3 separate regions of the Homo sapiens genome follow, and regions 2 and 3 are each linked to region 1. Evidence: promoter capture Hi-C in human tissues and cell types (Jung and others, 2019). All regions are on one chromosome and are shown on one strand. The core of a region is centred on a gene start or on the middle of the fragment in contact, and the rest is flanking DNA. Distances in the headings are between cores, read along the strand shown.

Evidence for each region. The method cuts DNA at HindIII sites, captures the fragments that hold promoters and counts their contacts. A contact is called where the count stands out against the background at its distance.
Region 2: a contact is called between a fragment that was not itself captured here and the fragment with the promoter of SUSD2 in region 1, in 3 of the 25 tissues and cell types used here (dorsolateral prefrontal cortex, mesendoderm cells and spleen).
Region 3: a contact is called between a fragment that was not itself captured here and the fragment with the promoter of SUSD2 in region 1, in 2 of the 25 tissues and cell types used here (dorsolateral prefrontal cortex and spleen).

Annotation. Positions count from the first base shown.
Region 1 is chr22:24,179,800-24,183,075 of GRCh38, reverse strand. It overlaps SUSD2 (sushi domain containing 2), which reads right to left and starts at 1,589. Exons shown (of 15, transcript NM_019601.4): 1 at 1,481-1,589; 2 at 1-19. The coding sequence starts at 1,556. The HindIII fragment of the contact is 36,064 bases long and covers 1-3,276 here.
Region 2 is chr22:24,126,930-24,130,205 of GRCh38, reverse strand. The region is part of intron 28 of CABIN1 (calcineurin binding protein 1); the gene reads right to left. Among named protein-coding and RNA genes, the nearest start is that of SUSD2, 53 kb to the left of the region's middle. The HindIII fragment of the contact is 5,404 bases long and covers 1-3,276 here.
Region 3 is chr22:24,144,623-24,147,898 of GRCh38, reverse strand. The region is part of intron 29 of CABIN1 (calcineurin binding protein 1); the gene reads right to left. Among named protein-coding and RNA genes, the nearest start is that of SUSD2, 35 kb to the left of the region's middle. RefSeq lists enhancers at 1,283-1,577, 1,442-1,661, 2,278-3,013, 3,014-3,276. The HindIII fragment of the contact is 6,827 bases long and covers 1-3,276 here.

The sequences.
Region 1 (3,276 bases), core at 340-2,839:
GAGCAGCTCTCTTGGGCATCTGGAGGAGAGGATGCTGAGGGCCTGGCCCGGCGGGTACTGGACTGGCTGCCCCATGTGCAGGGCCTGTCTCTGTTTCTCCCACAGCCCATTAGACAGCAGCATCCCCAGGAGAACGCTGGCCAGGAACTGCACAGGCCACCAGGTGGACACAGTAGAAAGCCACAGGGCCCGTGGGGATGGGATGAATCTTAGCACAGACCATCTGGCTGTTGCCCTGACTGACGGGCTAGAATGCAGCGAGAAGAGGCAAAAAGCTGCATCCGCTCAGCCCTGCAGGGTCAGGAGAAGCCCCTGGGCATGACTGCCCTTCAGCCACCAAGTCCTCTATCCCACAGGCAGGGGTCCTCAGTGGGCCACGGTAGCTGGAGCCCTCGACCTCTCTTGGCTCCCCAGGGTGTCTGTGGTCAGCACGCCTTCTGGGGGCCCTGAAGCCTGCAGAAGAACCCCTCTTGCTTGCCTGGACTGGGGTGGGGGATATGGCTGCCAAGAGTCTCATTTGAGGCCTGGTAGGGAATGGTGCAGGGTCTGAACGTGACACTTCTCGCTCTCCCAGGGGCTGCAATTGAGACCCCAAAGAGAGCTCCGTGCTCAGGGCAGAAGGCCAGGGCCGCTCCCCTCCTTTCTGGGGAGAGGAGGGACATTTCAAGCAGGGGTCCCAGCAGTGGGGAAAGGGAAGTGGGGGTGCACACCACAAGGGGCTGTGGGCGCCGGGCCCAAAACTTCTCCTATGGGCCATAAGACCGGTGGGCAAGGCCATATTTCCAGGGGCTGGCATGAAGGAAGGGTTGCAGGGAGGGACTGGGGCAGGTGCATGCACCCAGGCTGGAATTGCACTTCCCTGGCCCTTCCCCATCCCCCATCAAAAGAGGCCAGTCGAGGGCCAGGCCTGGGCCTGAGCCACCCCGCTGGCCCCACTTCACCAAGTGCAGTGCCTGGCACTTAAAAGCAACAATAAATATGTACTGGCCAAGGATTTGGTGGCGCACAGGGGTCGGGGGAGGAGGCCGAGAGATGCTTGCAAGTGAGATAAGTGGCAAGAGGGTCGATGGGAAATGGGGTGGGGGACGGGGGGCAGCCTGGGACCAGTGTCCTGGTTCTGGAGTTCGGGGCTTTCCCTAGACTTTCCTGGATTCAGCCCCACCCTGATGAGGACCCACAATCCTGGCTCCCCCTCCGTGATCCCGCCCTGTCAGGGCTGGGGACACAGGCGGAGGCCTCTGCTGGTCTCCCCCGCCTCCCTCCTAGCTACCAGCAGGTTTAGGGTGGGCCCGGCTCAGACCTCCCATCCCCATGGGCTGCCCCTCCACATGGACCCTCAGAATTTCTTCCCATCACCCCTAGCACAGCCACAGATGGCCTGACAGATGGACAGAGGCTGAGCCCAGAGGGATGTCAGCCCAGGCCTGGCTGCAGACAGATGGACAGACAGACGGGGACACAGAAGGGCAGGGAGGCATACCTGCTGTGGGTCCGGGGCCCGGGCCGAGGGCTGTCGCCAGCAGCAGCAGGGCCCAGGGCAGGAGGGCTGGCTTCATGGTGCAGCCTGTGTCTGCAGCCAGCAGTGCAGTGGCTCCGAGGCGAGGCGGCCAGACAAGCTCACTCCCTGCTGGCCTGGCCCCGCCCGCCCTGCACTCTGCGGCACCGCCCCGCCCCGCCCCTCCCCGCCCCTCCCCACCCAGTCCCCTCTCAAAGTCCACAGGTGCCTGCGTGGACCAGCAAGGCCCAAGTTGCCCCGTTAGCACATTCCTGGCCCGCAGGCCTGGATCGGCCCTGGGACCCTGTGGGAGGGTGAGGAGGCCGGAGCCTCCAGCCACAGGACCTTTGGCAGGCGATGAGCCGGATGTCCAGAGGGCGAAGCTCAGACCCTGGGTCCCAGCCCCGCCTTGCATGCAGGGCGAGCCCGGCGGGGCTGAAGCAGAGGATGGGATGCGCAGGGTGAATAAGGCAGGGCTGTTTTAGCTCCAGGGAGGATTCCAGACTCTGTGGCCCTGACATAGACCTCCATCTCTAGCCCTCATCTTCCTGCAGGAAGGAGGTGCACCCAACTCATCCTCAGGGGGAGGCAGGAGCTGTTTGGGTCAGACACAGGCTGAGCCCTGGGGCGGAGGCAGCTCTGCAGGGGTCCCCTCTGGAGGGAGGAAGGAGGAAGGGGAGAGAAGGTACCCAAGCCCAGCGGGGGGCCCGGAAGGGAGACAGGGCCCATCCCCGGGCTCCAGAGATGCCACCACCCTGGGGAGCCTTGGCTGTCCCAGCCACACCTAATCCTGCCGCTAAGAGTTTGCATAATTTAATCAGTATTCACCTCCCTTCTTGAGCAGATGAGGAAACTGAAGCTCAGATGCGGATAGGCAAGGCCGAGCCAGGCCCTTGGTGGCTTCTGGGAGCCCCTGCAGCCAGGGCGGGTGGTAAGGGCTGCGGCCTGGGACTGGTCATTTGGACCCTGACACCTGGGCTGGACATCCAGACAGGCGGGTGGTCCTCTCCCAGCTGCAGCTTCTCAAGGTGTCCAAAAGGGACCCTTGCCACACTTGCAGGGAGTCAGAGGTGGCCCCAGGGCATGAGCTTAGGCCATCCGGTCTGTGATCTGCCCCAGCGCTTGCGGCCAGGCCAGCCCATTGTTCCCCGGCCTGTTCTCTCTCTTGCCTGGGTGGTGCCTGCTGGGAACCACAGGGTGTTGGCAGCCACCCGTGGCTCCAGAGAGGTGGCCCCTACTGAAAGTGTTAGAGGCGTGTGCTGGGGGACTTGGCTCCTGAGTCCCCACACAGAGCTGTTCCAGGGAAGCCACACCCGCATTTGATGTTTTCCCACCTCCCAAAGACATTTGGTGAGAGGCCCCCAAGACCTTCAGCTTCTCAGGGACTGTCTCCAGAGGGGAGAAAGTCCCTTAACCCACAATGGCGCTCAGGGCACCTCTGCAGGTGAGTGTCCTGTAAGTGGACGCTCAGGTGCTGAGCCAGGGAGAGCCTGTCTCCTGGCCCCAGGCTGGCGAGGGCATTCATCCCAGGCCCAGGGCTGAAGTTGCTCCCTACAGCACTGGGTGCAGGGGAGGGTCCGAGGTGTCCGTCCTCCTATAGGTGAGGCTCCAGGGAGGGGTGCTGGGGGATCGGCTGAGACAGTTCCCGGGAACTGGAGGAGGGAGAGCTGCTGCTTCCTGTTTTTGGCCTGGGCACCGTTGCTGCGCGTGTCTGGAGACAATGGAAGTGCGGTAGGGGCTAGGTGTGCAGTCTGGGAAGCTCCATACCCCAGGCCCTGCAG
Region 2 (3,276 bases), core at 340-2,839, 53 kb after region 1:
CACCTCTGAGAATGGGAGGAGGCCCATGGAGCCACTTGCCAGATAACGGCACATTTTCCTTGGCTGCATTGGCCCTGAGGCTTGTGCACATAGACCCTCCTGTGACAGAGGGCAGATGGAGGGCTGTAAGGTCCTGAAGAGAAGTAGGGCAAAGAATCGTAGAAGCATACAGGCACCTTATGTCCTCCCTTGCCTACTATCTGGACCATCCCTGCTTCACAGCAGAAGGCAGAGGGGACATCTAACTCCTCTGCTTAAAGGCCTTTGGGCTGCACCTGCCTCAGGGCAAGAGTCAGCTCCATGCCTCAGTCTACCTGCCTACCCGCTGGCTCATCTCCCCCATACCCTCCAACCCCTCTTTGTGAACAGCCCTCCAGCCACACTTGTTCCCACCTTGGTCCCTGGAGGTCTCTCTACCTGGTGCCACCTCACCTTTCCCCCTGATGCTCCCCTGGAATACTATTCCCACAGCCCCATGGCCACCTTAAATAGCCTTTCCACTGACTCGCAGATGGGTCTGCTGTCTGCCCCTACTTCTCTATCAGCCCTATAAGGGCAGGGACACAGTCTGACTTCACTGATGGCTCCTCCAGGACAAGTCTAGTTTGAAGCTCACAGAAAAGGGTGCAATAGTTGCCCACAGGAAGAATGAAAAGAAGCTGAGCAGTCTGACCTTTCATAAAATGGGAAGGAAGCGTATGTCAGGTTGAGGGAGGAGGGCAACAGCCATGGGGCGTGAGTGGGGCTGCTTGGGTCCTTCCCAAGGCCAGGGTGCCAGCACTATGCTCCCTGGGGCCAGCTAAGCAACAGTCCATGCCCTTGAGGCTAAATTTCAATGCCAGCCCCCGCCCACTAACTCGCACTACTCTGCCAGCAATCGTTTCACTACAGCACACATTGGGCTGACTGTCATAGCTCCTGGAACTCCCCACGCTCCCTTTCTCTTCACACAGGAAGCAAAAGCTTGGGGTGAGGTGGCTTGCATCCCTACCTGTAGCCTTCCATGGGCCCTGCATGTAGTGGGGGCTTGGCAAAGCCTGTTGACAGCTGGAGATGGGAAAACAACTACTACCCTCTGGGGACACCTGCTGTCCCAAGATGTGCAAAGCCGTAAGGCAGACCTGATCCCAGGTGCCATCTGTCACTATTGTATGGTGGCCTGGAGGATGTGCTCTGCCTGTGTCACCCAGGGTCTCTGCCCCCAGGGGCTGTCTCCCTGCCACAACCAATGATGATGATCCACTCACCACTTAACTACCTCCTGCCTCACGAATCCACAAGGGACAGATGGTGGGGCTCAGAGAGGTCAGGCTCTACAACTCCTACATGGTGACTCCAGGTGTGCAAACTGTCTGGTGGGGATCCTGGAGCAGTGCCAGCCTATCTGCAAGACCAGTAGGGCTCCACAGGGCTGCCAGGAAGGTGGCTATGGACCTCAGCTGTGTTCAGCCCTTCACCTAGCCATACCTCAGGCATTGGCACGGGGGCACAGATGGTGCTCACGGGTTCCATGACAAATGGAGGAAACAGGAGTGGTGGAGGGCTTGGCCAGGGAAGACCTTCTGCAGCCTTTGGAGCCACCCAGGACCTCTTGCCCTGTGTGAAGGGGAATTGGCTGGGAGCCCTTGGAGTAGTGTTCTATAGGCCAGAGGAAGAGGAGTGTGTGGCTACCTGCTGATGGGAGACTCAGTGGGCTGCTGGGGACACCCATAAGCTGCGGGCACATACCTACTGCAAACTCACCCCAGCAACCTAGGACATGAATATCCCCATAGCTAGACCTGGTAGACTTAAAGCCAACCATTCCTGATACTTCTAATCATGAAAAATTATAATTAGAATGTCTGTTTGGATAAAGCCAAATATTAAGGAGTTAGTGTAAAAGCTGTGCCCACCCTCCCCCCGCCCCGAGAATCCTGTGTAGGCATTAGAAGTCATGCAATCAAAGAGTTTATGAGTACACGAGAAGCAAAAAAAAGCAGAACCACATTTGCATACATTTCTGTGAGTGTGTGTCTGTTTGTGTGTAAAGAAAGTAGGCAGAAGATGGAAAGGAAATGCACCCAACATTCCTGAGAGTTGCCTGGGGAGGGAGACTCATGGCAATAGTTCTCAATGGGGGTGGGGGTCTGTCCCCAAGGAGGCATCTGGCAATATCTGGAAACATCTTTGGTCATCACAGCTAGAGGAAGGCTACTGGTATCTAGTGGGTAGAGACCAGGGATATTGCTGAAAGTCCTGCAGTGCACACACAACATCCCCACAACAGAGAATTATTTGGTCCCAAATGTCAATAGTGCCTCAGGAGGGAACTCTGTTCTACGTTATTCATATATACTCATATATATACAACTGTTCTAGATCACTCATATATATATATATATGAAAAGTTAAATACAGTTGTTGAAGATGATAGATGTGCAAACTTTCTCACCTGATTCACAACATTAGAGAATCAGAACAGAAGCAGGATGAATGACTATCTGTGGATTGACCTTGACTTTTCTCTTTCCTTCACACCCCACAGGTCCTGGGCCAAAGAAATGGGGTCTGATTGGGCTAGCGCTGCCAGGCTGCTACTCGTCATACCTCATCTAAGTGGAATCATTCAGTATTTGCCTTTTGTGACTGGCTATTTCACTTAGTATTATGTCCTCTAGGTTTCCCATGTTGTCTGATCCATTGATTCAGCTCTTCTGTCTGAATCCATCTAGAATCAGACTACTTCCTGATATCCTGCTGTGGCCTCCTCCCATCTCTGCTGCCACACTGACTTCTTCTCCACCTGTGTGGACACATTCTCAAGCTCCTGGGCCTCTGACTACTGGGTGGGTTTGACTGAGGGAATTTGATCAGAGCACTCACTCCTTGAATTCCCTCCCTGTGGAGTTGATGAGGGGCAGCCATCAATGGCCAGCCCCGACAGGCACCGCGGCTGGTCCAGGGTACCACACTCCTCCTCCCTTGTGAATTCCTACTCTCTGCCTGGGCCTGTGTAAGTTGCTCCTTCATTAAGTGCTCTTCAGACTTTCCTGTTAGATGGGGCCATCTGTGTCCTGCTAGGCCTCTGACAGGCCACCCCCAACTCACTCTTTACATATCAGCCCAGTAGTGTCTCTGACACACTCAGGCCACATGGAGCCTGTCTTCTTCCACAACCTTGCGACAGTTTTTTGTTTTTTTAGTTTAGCTTTTTTTTTTTTTTTTGAGACAGAGTCTTGCTGTGTTACCCAGGCTGGAGGGCAGTGGCACGACCTTGGCTCACTGCAACCTCTG
Region 3 (3,276 bases), core at 574-3,073, 35 kb after region 1:
GCTGAAGGTCCCACACCTCCGCTTGCAAGTGTACCTCCCCCTGCAGACAGTGCACCTGGGCCCAGAGCAGTGTCCTACGAGGACAAAGCATGTAGAACAGGAAGCTCTGCCCAAGCTGAGACCGCCACACACAGGCCTGAGAAAGATGCAGCTAGGGCCAGGCACACTGGCTCATGCCTGTAATCCCAGCACTTTGGGAGGCTAAGGAAGAAGTATTGCTTGAGCCCAGGAGTTTGACACCATCCTGGGCAACATAATGAGACCTGTCCCTCAAAAAAAGATGTGCGCTGGGTGTGGTGGGGCACATCTGCAGCCCCAGCTACTTGGGAGGCTAGGGCAGCAGGATCACTTGAGCATGGGAGGTCGAGATTTAGTGAGCTGTGATCACGCAAGCCACTGCACTTCAGCCTGGATGACACAGTGAAGCCCTGTCTCAAAAAAAAAAGAAAGAAAGAAAGAAAAGAAAAGAAAGAGGAGGGAAGGAGAGGTGGAGGGAAGGAAGGAAGGGAGGAACGGAGGGAGGGAGGCAGGGAAGCAGGGAGGGAGGGAGGCAGGGAGGGAGGGAGGAGAGGAGGGAGGGAGGGAGGGAGGCAGAGAGGCAGGGAGGCAGGGAGGGAGGGAGGGAGGCAGGGACGGAGGGAGGGAGGCAGGGAGAGAGGGAGGGAGGGAGGTGCTGCTGGGATACATTCCAAGAACAAACCTCTGAAAAATAACTTGTGGTGGGAAATGAAGTTCATGCTGAAAAATGCTCCTCTATTCAGGAATGTTAAACAGCGAGCTCCTGACTGAATACCCAGGGCAGCTGGGGGCAGAGGGGGCTGTGGGCTGAGGTGGTGGATGTATATACAAACACTGGCATCCCACTAGGGAAAAAATAGCAGCTGCTTCTGATAGGCTGGGCAGAAACTCCGGCATGGAGGCTGGCCCAAGGGACATGGGTTCCCAGTCTGGGCTCTGCCACTTACTGGCTATATGACCTTAGGCAAGTCATGAGTGCGCTGTCTGCAGAGATTCTGCACCTCCTAGCAGGATGGTCATGGGGATTCCATGGGATCATGAATGCTAAGGGCTTAACAAGATCATCTTCCTCTGCCCAAGCATCCTGGCTTTGCCAGAATTTTGAATCCACATCTGGAGATGAAAACTGTCTCCGGATAGCCAGAAAATAATTTATACCAGGAACGATGGTCTAAAGGCTGCTTACATTTTATTTATTTAATTATTTTTTTAAAAATTCTAACTGTGAATGCAGGTGGCCTGGCTTTTGCTGTGGTCCTGTCAGGGCAGGGGCCTGGGTAACCTGTGGCCTTGTCCCTGCCACTCCTCTGTGTGTACTTCCTCCTACTGACCTCTCCTACTGGTGAGGACACACTGTAGCTTCTCAGGCAGGAAGCACCCCCTCTCCACCTGCTGCCTCTCAGGCTTGCCCCTCCCCAGACAGGGCGGCCTTCAGACCTGCTCCAGGCTGAACACGGGGGCTGTGCAAGCCGGAAGCTGTGAAGTTCCACAAAGCTTGCAGAGCCCAGGATGTGGGAAGGAAGGAGAGCTCGGGGATACATTTAGAATCCACACAAGTTTGCTAACTCTTTTAAGACTCTTAAAAACAGGACCTTTTTTCCCTGGAGAACTTGAAGTGTTTCTTTTGTTTACTCTGCTTGTGCAACTGGCCCATAGATCATCTCAGCAATGCTAAAAATAGTGCTAGTGCAGCAATTCCTACTACAGCCAAGTAGCTCTTATTTCCTCAATTTAAACTTTTTTCTTTCTTTTCTGTCCTATGATTCCCACTGTTATGTGACTGGGTTTCCTTTGATCCCCTGACAGTCCTAAGGGCTGCTGCATACCTCAGTTAATCTTAGTGATAGAGGAGGTACTCAGAGAGGCCAGATGACCTGCCTAGGTCACAGCCAAGGGCAGAGCCAGAGGCAGAAGCCCAGCCCATTTCCTCACCAGCCAGGGTGGGATGTCTACAGCCACTGGTGACTTGTTATCATGGGGATACCCCAGGAAAAGCCACAATCAATCCCAATTTCTTCTGAAAACCAGATGACATTGCGCATTAGGAGCTGAGACTACCCTTGGGGAAAGAGTGGGATAATAAGCAGCACCCTTCCATCCTAGCACGGCCTTGAGTGGCATCTCTACTGTGTTGCGTCCATCCTCCACTGAGGACACTGCTTGCCCTCAGAGGCATCCTAGCGCCCTGTCCATTGGAGGACAGACATATGCATGCACGCAGACCCAGGGCCACATGCCTGGCACACCAGGCAGAGACACACGGGACGACAGATCTGAGCATCAGAGTGCCAGGGCTGAGCACCAGGTCCCCCAAGCCCACCTCCTCGGCCCTCTTGTACTCCGCTTCCCCTCATCCCATCAGTCCACAGGCAGTCTGGGTCCTGGCTCAGAACACCTAAATCCTGGCTCAGGTGCAAACTTGCTGTGTGCCTGTCTCGTTTTCTTAATTTGCGAGGCAGGGACAATGGCACTACCTACATCTCATGAATTATGAGAATTCAACAAGCCATTGTATGTAGAAGTGCCAAACACAGCACTTTGGAGCCCTGAGGAATGGTGGGTTGACAGTGCTCCTGCTGCCTCTGCCCCAGCCCCAGCCCCAGCCCAGCCCCTCCAGTGCATTCAGGGCAGCTAGTGCAACACCTGGAAGACGCTCCTCAATTCAGTCCCCCTTTCTTTGTGAGAAAGACCAAACTGCACCTGGCCCAGGAAAACAGGGTCCAGTGGTGGCCAGCTGGCCACCCACCACTGCGTATAGCATGCAACTCTGCGAGGCCCTCCCTGATGTGCATGTGGCACTGTCTGTGCCCCACACTGTGCCTCATGCTGCATCTTCTGCTCAGAAGCCTGGCCCTGTTCTGTCCTTCACAGGCATGTCCTCTAACGTCACTCTCCTGTCATTCTCACACTGTCTGCTCACTTAGGTGATGGGGCCTGTGCTCCAGGAGGGGCAGGCCTGTCTCCAAAAGCACATGTGCAAAAGTGACTCCCATAGGGGCTCAGGCAGGATCCAACACTAGCCTGGGCAGGGCTGGAGATAAGCTTGGGGAAGGCTGGGCTGTGCAGTCACATTGAGCACAGCAACACGGAGCACAGCAACACCTGGCAGGAAAGCCCTGACTGGAAATGGCCTCCACCAACAGTCTGAACAGGCCTAGGATGGCCTTGAGGGAGAGGTGGGCAGGAGGGGCAACAGAGTGCCAGGTGAGGCCCCAAAGAGGGAAGTCAAATGTGGAGGAGATTTACTTGTGGTTTCTA